2 separate regions of the Homo sapiens genome follow, and region 1 is linked to region 2. Evidence: promoter capture Hi-C in human tissues and cell types (Jung and others, 2019). All regions are on one chromosome and are shown on one strand. The core of a region is centred on a gene start or on the middle of the fragment in contact, and the rest is flanking DNA. Distances in the headings are between cores, read along the strand shown.

Region 1 (2,700 bases), core at 156-2,655, 40 kb before region 2:
TGTTGGCCAGGCTAGTCTTGAACTGCTGACCTAGTGATCTGCCTGCCTCGGCCTCCCAAAGTGCTGGGATTACAGGCGTAATAACTGGACTTTTTGTCACTTTCCTAGTCCTTTGATAAAGAGGGATTGCTGCCAGGGGTCTCGTGAGGGAGGTCTGGGCAAAGCCCGTGTCATGATCTGAGGTTGGACCTGGCTTCTTGGGGCCCAGGAGCAGCCATGTTCCTCTGATAGCCACAGCCACCACCTCTTTTGCCTTCTTCCTAATTCTCTTAATTTATTCTTTTTGAGACTGCATCTTACTGTGTCGCCCAGGCTGGAATACATGACACAGCTCACTGCAGCTTCGACCTCCTGGGCTCAAGCCATCCTCCCACCTCAGCCCCCTGAGTGGCTGGGACTACAGGCGAGCTCTACCACGCCCGGCTAATTTTTTTAGCAGTGGGGTCTTGCTGTGCTGTCCAGGCTGGTCTTGAACTCCTGGGCTCAAGTGATCTGCCCTGCCTTGGCCTCCCAAAGTGCTGGGCTTAAAGGTATGAGCCACCACGCCTGGCTCAATTCTCTTAATTTTAGATTGAGCCTCAATTTCTGAAAATAAGGGCAGTGTTTTTCTCCACGCAGAGGTTTACCATCTGGAAAAAGAGAAACTTCTTAGAGCCTTTGTGTGTTTTAGAAGCTATCCGGACTGGGCGTTGTGGCTCACGCCTGTAATCCCAGCGCTTTGGGAGGCTGAGGCGGGTGGATCACGAGGTCAGGAGATCGAGACCAGCCTGGCCAACATAGTGAAACCCCATCTCTACTAAAAATACAAAAATTAGCTGGGCATGGTGGCACATGCCTGTAATCCCAGCTACTCGGGAGGCGGAGGCAGGAGAATCCCTTGAGCCAGGGAGTTGGAGGTTGCAGTGAGCTGAGATCGCGCCACAGCACTCTAGCCTGGCGACAGAGCAAGACTCTGTCTCAAAAAAAAAAAAAAAAAAAAAAGAAACTATCCGAATATCAAATTTGAATAACTTTCTTTTTTTGAAAGTTTTTCATTATGGAAAATTTGAAACATGTATAAAGAAGAGAGAATGGCGTGCACGCCCCGTGTCTCTCTCAGGAGTGTGCGAGTTTTCGTGTGCAGCCTGTTTCATCCCTGCACCGCACAGGAGGGACACACAGTGCCATCTCACCTGTGTGTACTTCCATACATGTCTCTGGAAGGTGGGGCTCTTTATGTCCTCACCACACCCGAGAACGCGAGCAGCCGTTGCCAGGCCCTGTCGGCGGGAGGAGCGTCCTTGGTGACGTGAACACAGACCTCCCTCTTGGGCTGTCGTGCTTGTCACCCACGCTCATTGTGCCCACTGTCAGAGCCTTCTGAGAAGTTACTCAGATGCTCTTTCAGCTGACCTGGTTTTATAGGCAAGCATTATGAGTTAAACGGCACCTCTGCCCGAGGTCACGGCACCCACATAAAACTGGTGAACGTTCACTTTCTGTCATTTCCCAGCCTCAAGGCAGAGCTTCCTGCAGGGCACTGCAGCTCCAGCCCCCATCCCCCTGCTCTGTCCCCGCCCCACTGCCCCTTCCTCCATCTCCTTGTCTTCCATCACCTCACCTAACTCTCAGCTCTGTCTTCAGCTTCTCTTCTTTTCTCCTGTCCCCTGTCAGTTGGTTGCAGTCTTGTCCATTTCACTTCCAGCCCATCTCTGAAGCCGCCATGCACTTCCACCCCAGCCCTTGTCTGTCCCGGGAATGCTGTCCTCCTGGCCTCAGCTTGCCCTCGTCGCAGCACCCGGGCGTCTCCTGCTCGCAGGCTCTCCCTGTCGTGCTGTGCCCAGTGCTACCTTGAGCCTCCCCTTGGCTCAGCCTCCTGTCCTGCTATTGTCATCACTGCATGACACCGAGTGATTCCCCCTGAAAAACAGAGCAAGCCACAGGAACCCCGTGGCCTGTGTGTTCTCCCCAGCCGCAGTGTGCTCCATGGCTTCTGGGGTTGCTGCAGTGTGCCCTGTGGCCTGTGTGTTCTCCCCGGCCACAGCATGCCCGTGGCCTGCGTGGTCTCTGTGGCCGCAGGATGCCCGTGGCCTGTGGGGTCTCCGTGGCTGCAGTGTGCCTGTGGTCGGTTGGGCCTTTGTGTGTGCTGCCCCCCTTCAGATTGGCTCCCTGCCCTCTGAGTACTTGCTCTCCTGACCTCCACTGATGTTGCTTCACAGCAAGGAAGTCGAGTAGGTTCAACTCCAGCAGCTCTTGGTTCATGATTTGGGATGATGGGGGTCTTGGTGATGTCTCCTGCCTCAAGGCCCCTGTGGAGCCGGCTGTTGGTTTCGGGGACACAGGTGGTGCAGTCAGAAGATGCCTGCAGCCCTTCCTGCGCTGAGTCCAGTTCTTGTTTGCAGCTGCCACTGTCCTCAGGTGCCTCGATGGCTGCAGACTCCCTGAGAGCAACCAGACCCTGCTGCGGAAGCTGGGGGTGAAGCTTGTGCAGCGACTGGGGCTGACATTCCTGAAGCCGAAGGTGGCAGCATGGAGGTAGGCACCATGAGGGCGGTGCCTGGGGAGGGCCACGGGGTGGGGAGGGGTTGCTGTGGGGGGCAGGCGCCATTGATGAGGGCGGGGCAGGTGCTGTTGGGGCAGGTGCTGTGGGGAGGCAGTCGCCCTGTTGCGGGGTGGGGGAGGCAGGCGCCATGGGGTGGGGAGGCAGGCGCCTTGGTTCTG
Region 2 (2,700 bases), core at 155-2,654:
GATTTGTGAGTTTTACTCCAATTGAGCTTTTCCAGTGATTGACTGCCACTCCCTCCCAGCCTTTCGGTTCTTTAAAATGAAAGATAAACCTCAGGACAACCAAGACCTGGGGAAAAGACAGTCTTTGGGAATGTAATTTGGAAGAATGGATCCAGAAAAACAACCAGGGGCTCTTAACTCTAGTTTCGGCAGGAGATCCCGAGTTACAGACCTGAGCTCGTAAACAAACGCTCACCACTTTACAGTCGCCGCCTCATCCTGAAACTCCGGTCAGAAATGCTGGAAGGCCTTTGCTAATGCGCAGTGAAAATTAGGGGCACAGATGTGGACGGACTGTGCTTGGTCAGTAATTGTTCTCCTCCAAATCAAGTTTATGAGAAATTTCATATAAGGAAAAAAACCCTTTTGTATCTGTGTCTATATGTACAGAAGACCTTAACAACCAAACAGAAACTTAACCCCTTTGGTTTGGTTTTGTTTTCGAAAGCTTATGCCCAATTTTAAACTTCATGTAAGCTTATGTACTTATTTTAAACTTTAAAACTATTAAAAGTTAAACTAGATAGTAAATTCGGCACTGTCTAATGTGCATACACCACAAACATATAACCCTAAATTCAGCTGTGTCTAATGTGTATACACCACACATATATATAACCCTAAATTCAGCCTGATGTACTTATACCACACATATATAACCCTAAATTCAGCCTAATGTACATATACCACACACACATATATATAACCCTAAATTCAGCCTAATGTACATACACCACACATATATATAACCCTAAATTCAGCCCTAATGTACATACACCACACATATATAACCCTAAATTCAGCCTAATGTACATACACCACACATATATATAACCCTAAATTCAGCCCTAATGTACATACACCACACATATAACCCTAAATTCACCCTAATGTACATACACCACACATATATATATGACCCTTACCTCTTGTTAGCATTTATTGTAGTTTGTTTTTGAGGTTAGGAGCAGTTAAGCAATAATATGAATTTGTGTTGGTTTAACTTTTATGAATTTTAGGGCAGAACAAGGAGTTAATTTCCAGATAAGCTTGTTCATGTTCTTAGAATAAAGTGTCAGCCTCATTAGAAGTTTTGTAATCGTGGTCTGCATCCCAGCCATGCACCTGCTGGGTCCTGAGTAATCCTCGGAGCCCAGAGCAAGGCAGAGCAGACACGGAGCAAACGCTGCGTTCAGCTGGGTATTTTAGATACGTCTGAGAAGAGTTTTAAAATAAAACTTGAATTTGAAAAGAAATAGTGAGTACTTACCAGAGGTGGGCAGTGCTGGGATGTGGCCGGTCTTGGTGCCGGTGGCTGGCGGTGCTCAGGAAGCAGTACCTGTTCTCACGCTTGCTGGGTGAAACTGGAGCCTGCTGTTCCAGTGGGAGGGATTTAAGTGTAGGAGTTGAGCCCTCGGGGCGTAGAGATGCACCTGATATTCCTCCTGCCCGCAGCTACGATTCATGTGTTTGCACCCACCGAGCTGCTGCGGGCAGCCTCCCCAGCACTGGACCCAGCAAGCAAGTTATCTCGCCGACTCCCAGCGCTGTCTCCAGACTCAACTGTCTGTGAGTGCGGCGTCGGTGCTGCCTGGACGGCCATATGTCAGAGGGCTTTCGATGTGTCCGCAGTTAGAATAGAGATTACTATATTCATCAGAATCACACCCGATGAATATTTGGCGTCATGATAAAGACATGTGAGACTTTCCTTTAGAACTTGAGCATGTGTACGCAGGAGGCAAACACTTGGATTGATTCTCAAGCGCGCATACCCTGGGAGGCACAGTATTCATGGCGTCCTTGCCATGAGGTCCAGTGAGGCCTTTGAGGATCTGTGGACCTTCCACCCTCTACCCTGCTCCTGAGAGTCTCTGTCCCTGGTCCTCCTCAGGAGCTGAGCCGGCAGGGAGGGAGCTTATCCCAGAGCCTGGCTGCAGGGACCTGCCGGAGCTTGCCCGACACCAGGCACCGCAAGAGCTGCGGAGCAGGGTGTGTGGGTGCGGGGGAGGGGGCCAGCTGTGCACTCCCGCAAACCACCCTCCCCCCACTTTAAATTGCAGAGGCACTTAACTTGGGGGCCAGTTTTTACCTCCACACCCCCCCACCAAAACTGCTTGCTTGCTTAATCGGAGGCCGCACCCCAGTTGTAGCGAAGGCTGGCATGTGGTGTCGGTTTGAGGACTGGGAAAGGAGGTGGGATGAGCTGGTGTCAGGCCCTTGGATGAGCCTGAGGCTGCAGGGCAGAGGCTGCAGGGCTGTGGCATAGGGACGAGCTGGCCAGGACAGACAAACTGGTTTTTTTTTTTTTTTTTTTTTTTTTTTTTGAGACAGAGTTTCACTGTTGCTGCCCAGGCTGGAGTGCAATGGCATGATCTTGGCTCACTGCGTTTCTCCTGCCTCAGCCTCCCGAGTAGCTGGGACTACAGGCGCCTGCCACCACGCCCGGCTAATTTTTTGTATTTTTAGTAGAGATGGGGTTTCACCGTGTTAGCCAGGATGGTCTTGATCTCCTGACCTTGTGATCCACCCACGTCGGCCTCCCAAAGTGCTTGGATTACAGGTGTGAGCCACTGCACCCGGTCTGTTTTTTTGTTTTTGTTATTTTTTTCCTTAAGACTTAAGATTTTACATGGCTTTGCGTTTACTTTTATATTTAAT

The links. The method cuts DNA at HindIII sites, captures the fragments that hold promoters and counts their contacts. A contact is called where the count stands out against the background at its distance.
Region 1: a fragment that was not itself captured here is called in contact with the fragment with the promoter of ZNF750 in region 2 in 3 of the 25 tissues and cell types used here (dorsolateral prefrontal cortex, lymphoblastoid cells and spleen).

Annotation. Positions count from the first base shown.
Region 1 is chr17:82,798,483-82,801,182 of GRCh38, forward strand. It overlaps TBCD (tubulin folding cofactor D), which reads left to right. Exons shown (of 39, transcript NM_005993.5): 9 at 2,382-2,514. Among named protein-coding and RNA genes, the nearest start is that of ZNF750, 40 kb to the right of the region's middle. The HindIII fragment of the contact is 8,431 bases long and covers 1-2,700 here.
Region 2 is chr17:82,838,618-82,841,317 of GRCh38, forward strand. It overlaps ZNF750 (zinc finger protein 750), which reads right to left and starts at 1,405. Exons shown (of 3, transcript NM_024702.3): 1 at 1,310-1,405. All of the region lies in intron 13 of TBCD (tubulin folding cofactor D), which reads left to right. The HindIII fragment of the contact is 7,618 bases long and covers 803-2,700 here.